Linked DNA regions of Homo sapiens: regions 2 and 3 are each linked to region 1. Evidence: promoter capture Hi-C in human tissues and cell types (Jung and others, 2019). All regions are on one chromosome and are shown on one strand. Each heading gives the region's core, a stretch centred on a gene start or on the middle of the fragment in contact. The rest is flanking DNA. Distances are from core to core; before and after follow the strand shown. Region 1 overlaps ABCA6 (ATP binding cassette subfamily A member 6). Region 2 holds the start of ABCA6 (ATP binding cassette subfamily A member 6). Region 3 holds the start of ABCA9 (ATP binding cassette subfamily A member 9).

Region 1 (3,806 bases), core at 609-3,108:
AGCTCATAGAATGAATTGCTGTATTAACCAAGGCTGAAAAGAATTTAAGTTGCGCACCCCCACCTCCGCCGAAGTTAAAGTTAAAAGAGAATACTAACTGTCCCAAGAAACATTAACCATATCTACTTCCCACATATTCTGTAAGTTCTGTAAGTCCCTGTTTTTCTTGCTGTGCAGCTGCAAGGTCACAAGATAAGTAAGTGAAAGTTAAATTGCAACTCATATTTTTCCTAAGATGCAAGTCATGGCATAAATGATAAACAGCCTTTGTTCTCACTTCTGCAAACCTGCTTCCTGCTTCAAGTTTTTCCCGCCCCAAAATGCTTAAAAGTTGCTCGCTTTCTTTGTTAGGGGCTCAGACTTTCAGGACACATGTCTGCTGAGCCGATATACACCTAAAATAAAAGCTCTCCTGTATCCCGATCGGTCTCTCTAGTTCCTTAATTTCCTGCAACACTATAAAATTTGGTAAATCATACTAGACAATTTTGAATTTCTTTCAAGTCTGACATTCCACCATTCTAGAAATATGTAGATTCCTTTCAGTGATAGAAAAATGAAATAAATAAATATACTGAAATAGATAAGCATAAGAAGGGCAAAGGAAAAACAATCAGAAATTACAAATATATAAATACATATTTTACTATTACACTGCGGTGTAATTTTGTTTTTATATTTTGAACAGTCTTTGTTTTCCAAAACGTACCTTGCCTCTGGAATATTGTCTTGCCTTATTTGAATCCATAACAACTTAAGCATAAATGGCAGCAAAGGATAAAAGGCATGCAATCATACGTGTATGTGTTTTGATTTTAAAAATACAGTGTTTCTCAGTGTCATGTCTGATTTTCTGCTGTGATCTTTTATTTGTGATAATTTTTTCAAATCACAGTGAGAACACCTTAATCACCATGTTAGTTCACAAGCCTAAGAAGTGGTTCTGCATTATCATCTTTCCTTAGAAAGAACAAAGTCAAATTTCTTCTTTTGTTCATCTATTCACTTGCTGCCGTATATACAAGGGGCATTCATAATATGATAATGCAGATTCTGTCTTCTGCCATTTTTTGAAGGAAAGTTCCTCTCACTGGACTCTCACTCCTTACTCCACAATGGGAAAATGGTTTCTGCTCTCTAAGCCTAGAGATGAAACTTATTGTTTTGGAAGATTCTGGCCTATTAAGTTCTAGAAGTTCTGTCACAGTCTATGGAATTGATGCACAGATTTGAAATCCTGGAACTTGGCTGAGAAAATCTTGTCTATAATGTTTTCCAACCCAAAGCATCACTATGGAGCCTGCAGCCATGAGGAAATTAAACCTGCTCAGCTTCTCCACTAAAAGCTAAAAGGCAAGGGCTGAGGTATGTTTCTATCACTGATGCTGAATGCTCTCTTGTCTGAGAAATTTCCAGCTCTATACAAACTGGGATAAGTTGTGAGTATACGGTAAGCCAGGGGCAACTATTTCATGAGGCACATAGCAAAAAATGTGTCCATCTAGATGTGCATTTGTTCCAGTTTGGAATGATTTCTGTGTAATAAGGGTCAACACAAGGAGTGGCAAAAGCCACAAAAGGAAGCTTGATTCCAGCATGCTGTTTACTTAGGACTGAAGGACAAGCTGCTGAAAAAGCATCTATGAGGGGCACTCACTAGGGCATCTGCAGCATCACTCAGGCTGGCAGGAGCAGACCCATGCGCAACCACGCTGGACAATAACCCTGACATTTCTTGGCTATCACCTCCAAGGTAGACTTCGTTCAGAGCTAAAACTACTGGCAAACACTAAGAATGAATGTGAATTCTTTGTTCACCTTTGCTAGACAGATACAAGAGTGCTGACTGAAAAGAAACCAACCAAGTGTCAGTAAGACTCTCTTCTACAGACATCTGATCTAGCACCTGAGATTACACTGGACAATGGCAGTAAGTCTGTTGACTGAACAAAAAATAGTCTCCATGGAAAGGATAAATGGAAAGACCTTTTGTGCACCAGATCCTCATGGCTGCCTCAAAGCCAGTTTTTCCGAGTAAGGTGAGCCTAATGTTCTTTCTGTAGCCTCTGTACTTCCACTGGATTGTGCTGATGGTGGTAAGAGATATAGTTATAGACACTGTTTGCTGAATACAAAGAAATATAGCCCAGAGAAGTCAAACCCAAGTGCTGTCCACTGAGAAGGAACAACAGCTACCTGCTGGCCAAAAGAGTCCCAGACTAATTTCTTGTAGAAGTCAGTGGGTCGTATAGGTTGGTGCAAAAGTAATTGCGGTTTTGACATTACTTTAAATAGCAAAAAAAACGCAATTGCTCTTGCACCAACCTAATATTAAATATATCATTTCTTATAGATGATCTTTGGTTGGGTTCTTCTCATGGATTCAAGATTCCCATTCCAAGAGTTGAGAGCTGTTTTCCAGACAGACATTCAATCACCAGTTGAGGATATCAGTTAAAGGAGGCCTGAAGTGTAGGACTCAGGGCACTCTGGTGTCTCTAGAATTTCAGCAAACATTTCCAGCAAAGTTTTCCATGATTTTGGACAAGCTCTTTACTTTTATACTAACAAGTAACCTGGCATAAGTATAAAACATCTTTAGTATCTGAAACTATTAGCAGCTAAGGTTAAGAGAGACCTTCTTGAAGACTGTAGAGATGGGTTGTAATGTCAACTGTTAGGAAGCCAATTTTCTAGTGTTGGCAGGAAGCCCTGTATTCTGGAGACATAAACTCAACAGGACGTTTCAGACGTCAGGTCTTCTGTAAGATTCTCCATAAATTCTGTTCAATGGGTAGCACCTGATTTCTTTAGAAATATTATTGATTCAGTAACAGTGTTACACTTCCCTCTCTTTTCTATGGTGTAATTTTGAAGTATTAATTTTCCCTACTGTCTTAAGGCAGACATCTGTATTTAAGATTACATTAGAAGTTTAAAAAATAACACTATTTCTCTATTTGTATGTATTATATACTTACAAAAAAGAAGTAAAATGACCAAAGGCCACTGTTTTTTCTCCTTTTGCGAAAAATAAATGATATCATATATATGAAGAAGACAAGAGAAGCTGCATAACCAGGAGTAACTATAACCTGAGCATAAAAGAAATAATAACATAGTCAAAAAATCAAATATTACTGAGGGAAAAATTAGATTACAACTTTTAAAAAACAAGTAACCTGGCATAAGTATAAAACATCTTTGGTATCTGAAACTATTAGTATTTATCATACATGCACTTTGCATGTTTTTTGTTTTGGTTTATTACAAAATATGAATTAAAACATCTTAACTACTTAAAATAACAATGTTAAAATTTATTATTAATTACTTTATGAAATTTGGTTTATGTACTGTGTTACTTACCAAAGCAAACACAATTTGGCTTGTAATAAGAAGGTACTGCATGTTTTCTATGTAGAAAATTAAATACATTAAAAGGAGAATTAAAATGAAGAAGCTGACGTCCACTAGTGCCTGCCCACACCAGTAAGCAGAAGTGTAGAGGCCTGAAATCCATAGCTGGGACTTAGCATTTTTCTGATTAAAAAAAAAAAGAAAGAAAGAAATGTATATAGATTCAATTAAAATGCAAATCTAAAATAAACACAAACACATTGGAAGAATTTTTAAGATAAATATAATCTAATCTTCTAATATTAAAAAAAATTATGCATATACTGCTTAGTAACATGAGGCTTATAGAGCCAGTTCCATGGTTTACAAGGTGTCTATCAAAAATAAAATGTATACTGTGATAGGCCTGACTCATAACACAACTTTAGCTCATGAATAATGAAAAG
Region 2 (3,806 bases), core at 774-3,273, 47 kb after region 1:
TCACTCATAGATGGCAATTGAACAATGAGAACACATGGACACAGGAAGGGGAACATCACACTCTGGGGCCTGTTGTGGGATGGGGGGAGGGGGGAGGGATAGCATTAGGAGATATACCTAATGCTAAATGGCGAGTTAATGGGTGCAGCACACCAGCATGGCACATGTATATGTATGTAACTAACCTGCACATTGTGCACATGTACCCTAAAACTTAAAGTATAATAATAATAAAAAAATAAAAAATAAAAAAATAAACATTTGCTGTGTTAAGCCACTGAGATTTGGGCTAGTCATCTGTGATTAGCCCACCTGCTTGATGCAAACTGACTTTCAGTGGTGTTAGTTGATCATAATTCTTAAAAACAATTTTTGTGTAGAAAATTCATGTCCTTGAAAATAAATCCACAAAATTAAAATGTCTCCATTTCTTCTGACAACATTTTTTTTGTACTTCTTGGCTCTAAGTGTATAACATTTGGTAGTAGCTCTAGCAGTTGCTGTAATTTACCATATAATTAAATGTTCACTTAATCTCTTTTTATATGAGGAATTCTTTTAGTCTTTAATAATTTTATGTTATTCTTCAGTCTCTCAATTCAACAAATACAACTAGAGAGAACTGGTAAAATCAATAAATCCCATCTACTAATTAAAAGAGAACATAAGAGAATCAGTAGGTAATGAAACACTGTAAGAGTGCTAACCGTGGAAAGAGACAAATTTTTAAACATACCAATAAGCTCTCTCTTTTCATCCTCCATTTCTTAAGAAAATTCTTGCACAGAAGTGCTTTGGTTTGCTGATACACGCTTTTCTGTTTCATATTCATTTAGCCTATTCGCTGAAGGAGAAAGTAATCATGGTGGAACACAACCTAGAAAAAAATAAGTGTAATAAGAAAAACCTTGATCATAGTGTTGAGGAAAATATTTACTACCTTTAAAAAGTGTAAACATGAATTTAAAATATTATTTCAATAATTTATGACTGTAAAATTTCACCTCAAATATTTCACCTTAAGCTTTTTAGGGGAGTGGGTGATGGTGGGAAGGCAGAGTGATTATTATCACAATTTTGCAATAACTTGGAGTACTGAAATGGAAAAGCTGTAATTCAACTTCAGAACCTATAATTTCACATTTTTGGCCTTGTATGAGAGAACTTTAAGTACATGAATAGAGTGATTAAATTAATTTCATCCTGTTAATAGCCATTTCTTGTTCTTTACATTGAAACAGAAATCTCAGAGCTAATCAAATTAACATCAAAAGTCTGATTACTTAAATTTGTCTGAATAATAAATTACATCCACTAGATACAACCTCAATAAAGTGTTTTCTTGTAATTTTACCTTCAGATTGAATCAACTTTTATGAAAAGAGATAGGTTGTAAATCATAATCCAGGCTCAAACTACTTGAAACTTGATTCTGAGATACAGGAAGAATAAAGCAATTTCTCTCAATTTTCTGAATTCAGAAGTCCCTGAATAACTAATGAAACTACAAAATTAGCTTTAAAAGAAGCAAAAATAAATCACACGGGAAAGTAATTTTGCCCAAAGATTTGCAAATCAAGAAACACAATTTTTTTCGTTTCTGTAACCTCAAAATGAAATTCTTTCATATTTTTACATCAAAATATTCAGATAATTCTCCCTCAGCTAGCACAGAAGCAAATTTTTTCCATTTTTCTATGTCTTACTGTTACAATCTACACAATAAAAAGTGGTTGGGAAAAAGCAGAAAAATTTAGTCTTAGGTCTTTAACATAAAACACATAAGAATTGGGAAACATCTGAAAAATAGATTGATTTTAGCAGTGTCCACCCACATATTTGGCACAGCACAACAAAATAGAGCTTTACTTACTGTCAGGAAAATAATAAAAAGCACTCTAGAAACACTGTCAAAACCAGTTCTCTGTTTGTCTAGGTAACGATTACAACTTCTTTATTGCTGCTTCTTCATTTTTTCTTTAAATGGGTGCCTACTCCAGCAGCTCTTACACAGCCTGGTTTCTGAAAAGGGGTGTAGCCAGACCAAGCTGTACATGATGAACTTGTTTTGTTTTCTGTGTCTCTTTCTCCCTAAGCCAATTATTCTGCAAGGAAATGACTGTTCCGTGGTTGGTTGGGAATAAAATAAACTCTGTGTTTGTTCACTTAGCCTTTCAACTACAGGGATAAGGGGGAAAACGGTAAACAAGGAAAATGGAACTAGTTCTTCAGAAATGATGAGACCAAGATGGAGGCAGGAACAAGAAAGAGTAAAAACAATAACTAACCAAACAAAGCAGTTAAATTTGTATAAGAAATCTGTATCTATTTTCTTTTCACTACTGATGAATAAACACAACTGCCAGTTAGTTGTATATTTAACTAATTCAGACTAAGTTAGCAGAGTATTCTGGAGCTGATTTTTTTTCCTAATAAAGCTAAGCAATCCATAGTACGCCTTGGAGAAACTCCTAGGACAGACAAATGAAGAATTTTTAACAAATTTGTTGCTCCCACCCTCTTCACAGTGGATACAGGATTTCATAATACTTATGAACAAAATAAGCCAGTGGTTTGCCCAGGTCTACAAAACATATAAAAAGATTCAGATAAATTTTTGTGCACGAAGACTACAACAAACTGAAACATGTTTAATTCATATAGCATAGTCTGTCTCTCTCTGCTCTGTAAAGAGTTGCAAACTTTTCTTGACCTGCCACAGTGAATGGCAAAACAGGAAATCAAAGTCCATGAATTGGGAAATCTCAAATATTTGACACGGCTCCCAATCCACAGATGTTAATAATCATAAAGCTGAGAAACTTTCTGGAGCAAAGCAGATAATTTAAACAACAATGACAACTACAGCCATGATACTATTATGTGTATATGTGTGTGCCTGTGTGTATATATATAAAATGTATATATATATAATGTATACATATGTGTATATATATAATGTGTGTGTGTGTGTGTGTGTGTGTATATATATATATATAAAATTTCTCTCCTTGGCAATTACTTCTGTTTTTAAAAATAGTCAACAGTGAAATGCCACTTTTTTTACATTGAAAATTGGCACAAACACCGTTAATAAAGGTGTTCTAAAGTTCTCATGGGGTGTGGGAAGGGAGGTCATAAACACTTAACATTTTGTAATAGTAATATAACAAAACTCAAAGTTACTTTTAAACCACCTGGAATACAGTTAAGGCTTTTATGAATTTTTTTGTTGTTATCATTGTTTTAGACCCTTTATACTTTATTTTAGGAATCATTTTCATTCTGCCATTCTTATAATTGTATTAAAATTCACAGCTACAATATCAATGATAATTATTTAGATTAAATATATTTATTAGTTTCATTTCTTACCATTGTTTCTTGTGTATGCTTTCTTTTCCTTTTTCTTGACCTGTTTCCTCTTACTTATTTTCATTTTGGGAGGCTGTTTTCCTTACGTAATGTGACAATTTCCCCACAAATGGTGATCTAATATACTAAAGTGCCCAGCCTCCAGCTAGAAGGGCATGGAAGTGGTGGGTAAAATATATCCCCAAATTGAATTTCCAATATATAGTCAAATTCAAAAAAGGAAGAAAAAAGATGAAGAATGTAAACAACAATGGAAGAAACAAAAAAAGACAGAAAGACATGTTTCCAGGTGTTAAAACTGAAAAGGAATTTAAAGTTTCCCTTAAGTTGTGAGTGGCATTTCAGACACTCCATCAGTTCAAGGATATACTGGACTGAAAACCAAGCCTCAGGTGTTTTAATGACCCTCTGGCCTGAACTTGGTCCTTGAA
Region 3 (3,806 bases), core at 580-3,079, 34 kb before region 1:
TCCTGCGTCCCTCCCATGACAGATAGGGATTATGGGGACTATAATTCAAGATGAGATTGGAGTGGGGACAGAGCCAAACTATATCACAAGGCATAGTTGAAGAGAAATGTGATTGGCAGAATAATGGTCCCGTTCTAATCCTGGAATTTGTGAATATGTTACAGTACATGACAAAGGGGAATTAAGGCAGTAGATGGAATTAAGGTTGCTAATCAGCTGACTTTGAAATAGGGAGATCATCCTGGATTATCTGGGTAGACCCAGTGTAATCACAAGGGTGCTAAAAAGTAAAACAGGGAGGCAGACAAGATCAGAGTGAGGCAGTAGAAGAAGGGTTCATTCTGCTGCTACGGCTTTGAAGATGGAGGAGGAAGACCATGAACCAAAGAATGCAAGAAACCTCTAGAAGCTACACAGGGTAAGAAAACAGATTCTCCCCTACAGCCCCCAGAAAGAGACACAGCCTAGCCAACCCCTTGATGTTAGCCGAGTGAGAACCACATCACACTTCTAACCCCCAGAGCTGTAAGATGATAACTCTGTTTTGTTCTAAACCATTAAGTTTGTGGTCATTTTTTTTTTTTTTACAGCAGCAATAGAAAGTTAACATGGGGGCAGGGTTGGGGGAAGGAGTCCGAGAGCCTGAGGCCTGAGAACAAGACAGGAAGACATTGCTGGACATTTATTTTATGACGTGCCTCATCAGCAGAACAAAGAAGGGCATGGACTTATGTTTAAAAACTGTCCAGAAGTGACCAAAGAAATTCACCAGTGATGCAGATGAGCTCCTAATAATCATGCCATCGGAGCAGGCTGTGATAGCCTGGAAATCCTGCCTGAAACCAAACTGCAACATTTCCAACTAAGAAATCAAGCGGTGATAAACCTCAGTATCTGAAAGGGTTAAATATTGTGCCCACGTGACTACTGTTCTTTCTTTCTGTGAATTAATGTGTGTGCCAGAAAATATTTGTGAATAAAAAACAATTACATAATCTCATTGTCATGAATGTGGTTATTTATCTCTGAGCGTTAAGACTGATTTTTCCCCCCACTGAACATCTTAGTGTAAATATCAGAGAAAAAATATACTACCCACCGTAATAATATAAAACATCTAATTAGCTTAAATTGTTCTGAATAGGAAATTGTATAATTTAGAAATAATAAATTGGTTATAAAAAGCCAATCATTTCCCAGTCAGATAAAATTCCTGTTATTCACAGAACAAATTTTTCTAATTTGTTGCACTGGGCAACAAATTAGATCAAAATTTTAAAATAGTTACTATAATAAACAAGATCAATAAAAATCTTTCCTTAAGTTTTCTTGATGAAAATATTCTCAAGCCATTTAAAAACAATTCAAAACTCAGAAAATTATGCATCCTGCAATGCTTACAATTCCTCTGGCAGTAAAATTAAAAACAAACAAAGAAGAGTAAGTAATTCAAATAAATTTGGAAATAGTTCATACTTGTAAAGAAGCAACATAACGTGACATTTCTTTTGATTTATTCAATAGCCTATTAGATAATGTATGCTATTTGTCCAAAAATGTTTTAGTTACGGGGTAAAAATTTAAATTCTTAGTTCTTCATTTGGTTATTTAGACATACAAAATAAAATAGATGATTTAAAAAGTCAAAATGACTCGTTAATAACTTACTGCTTTTAATGGTTTCTACCTAAACGTCTGGCATGCCTATTTATAGTCTTATGTTATATTTCTATATGCAAAATAACCACAATTTTAGAGGTTAACTTACTCTCAGGAAAGCTGGAGGAAAAATCTAGAAACACAGTTCATCCATGGGTCTCTGCATGTTCTGGAGGAGAATTCACATTCCTTTTGGGTCACTACTACATCATGCTTTTAATTTCACATTCATTGTGAATAGTTCTGTTTTATACAAATTTCCCAGGAGAATCTGGTCTCAGTTCAGCTAGCCTGCCAAAATATCTTCTGCTCACGTGGTGATTTCTTTGCTGTTTTCCATTTCTTTGTTTCCTGCTAGTTACTCAGCAGGGAGTTTGTAGTTGCAGATGGTTGGCTGGACATATCAAAACATTAGGAACTATCAAACCAAGGAGAATCTAGCCTTTCTCAATCGGTCTTTTCATACAAGGCCCTAATGGGAGAGTTGACCCCAACACAATGATTTAAACAAAGATAAGTAAGAAGCCAATCCAGAGAAGAGTAGAGCAGAACAAAGTGAAAAATACATAAATATATATGTTATATATATATATATTTTAAGTGACAAGTAAATACATACAAATTGGGTTAGAAACTATTTAAAACCTTCAACAGATTCTTAAAACTTGAATCCAGAAATACGGCAATAAAGCAATGTAATTTTCTTCAGGGTAACAAAAGAAACTCTGAGTTTCCATCTGCATCTCAGTTTCATTGTGTGCATACTAATTGTAGCATCTTTCATCTTTCATGGTACTGAAGCGAGCAGAATCTTTAGAGAAATCTCACATAACAATTACCTGTGCTCTCAAAGCCTCCAGGCTTGTCATCTCTGCAACGGTTCCCATGAAACAAACTACTTTCTCCACCAGTAACTACTGAATTTTAGTATGTCCTGCTTTCCAGTATTGTTAGAGAAACATTTTTAACTGGTAATAGATGCCATTCTGTCTATTTTTGAGCATCTTATGTAAGTAGAAGAAAAGACTGTTCCAAAATTCTTATAATTCATGGAGTTCATCTTTGGCTGAAGAAGAGGGGGGAAAGGACCACTATCATTCTGCTTACAGCCAGTAAGTCTGTTAAATTCTTCAGTACTGTAATTTCTTCCTGAACATACAGCTGAAAGGGAAACAATAAATGCATGCAATTCTTAAATCAGCCTCTTATCTGTGTCTCATGGACCATGATAACCAAATGAAATCTTCCTTACCCATTTCCCATTCTCTCAATATTGATTCAATTATATTTATCCTTTTTCTAATTATATGCGATCCAGAAGTTGCTCAGCAAGCAGTCTGTGGAAGTAGGCTGAACTCCTGAATCCATGAGACTGTCAAACTTAAAAAAAAAAAAAAAGACTTCTGATTGTTTCCATATGTCTACAGAAAAGGTTATAGGTTGGTTGATTTTCTGCAGAAAATACAAAATTATCACATTCAATACATTTAATAACATCGCCAACATTTTGTGCACAGAGAATATAATTTAGGAAATTTTTTTTCAGTAACTTGTTTCCTAGAAGAACTTTGTACCTAGGTTAGAGCTTATGAGTTCTGGACCTAGTTGATTTTGACTTTCGGTTCTAAATTCTGTTTTCAATGTTTCCTTCAGTGTACCACACTGTAATCTCTGTGGCACTATAACAGAGCAAGCTCCCTCTCATTGATCTTCTTTTTAATATTTTCTAGATTAAACAATATTTAATATTTATTTATTTATTTATTTATTTTGAGACGGAGTTTCCCTCTGTCACCCAGGCTGGAGTGCAGTGGCACAATCTCGGCTCAATGGAACCTCTGCCTCCCAGGTTCAAGCGATTCTCCTGCCTCAGCCTCCACAGTAGCTGGGACTACAGGCACCTGCCACCACGGCCAGCTAATTTTTGTGTGTTTTTAGTAGAGAAGGGGTTTCACCATTTTGGTCAAGCTGGTCTGGAACTCCTGACCTCAAATGATGCACCCACCTTGGCCCCACAAAGTGCTGGGATTACAGGCAGAAGCCACTGCGCCCGACGTATTTACTCTTATAAAGAAGTTTTTGAATCAGTTTACCAATTCAAAAACAATCCCATGGGAGTTCAAAAATGAAATGACACTGATTTTATA

The links. Contacts are between HindIII fragments. The study calls those that stand out against the background at their distance.
Region 2: a contact is called between the fragment with the promoter of ABCA6 here and a fragment that was not itself captured in region 1, in 1 of the 25 tissues and cell types used here (H1 embryonic stem cells).
Region 3: the fragment with the promoter of ABCA9 here is called in contact with a fragment that was not itself captured in region 1 in 2 of the 25 tissues and cell types used here (aorta and pancreas).

What each region holds. Positions count from the first base shown.
Region 1 is chr17:69,093,259-69,097,064 of GRCh38, forward strand. It overlaps ABCA6 (ATP binding cassette subfamily A member 6), which reads right to left. Exons shown (of 39, transcript NM_080284.3): 24 at 3,370-3,543; 25 at 2,982-3,095. It also overlaps the pseudogene SEC24AP1. Among named protein-coding and RNA genes, the nearest start is that of MIR4524B, 4.4 kb to the right of the region's middle. The HindIII fragment of the contact is 8,648 bases long and covers 1-3,806 here.
Region 2 is chr17:69,139,872-69,143,677 of GRCh38, forward strand. ABCA6 (ATP binding cassette subfamily A member 6) reads right to left here and starts at 2,024. Exons shown (of 39, transcript NM_080284.3): 1 at 1,874-2,024; 2 at 737-877. The coding sequence starts at 832. RefSeq lists a silencer at 1,917-2,211. The HindIII fragment of the contact is 16,221 bases long and covers 1-3,806 here.
Region 3 is chr17:69,059,098-69,062,903 of GRCh38, forward strand. It overlaps ABCA9 (ATP binding cassette subfamily A member 9), which reads right to left and starts at 1,830. Exons shown (of 39, transcript NM_080283.4): 1 at 1,769-1,830. LOC124904051 (a long non-coding RNA gene) reads left to right here and starts at 42. Exons shown (of 2, transcript XR_007065889.1): 1 at 42-418; 2 at 591-995. The HindIII fragment of the contact is 8,506 bases long and covers 1-3,806 here.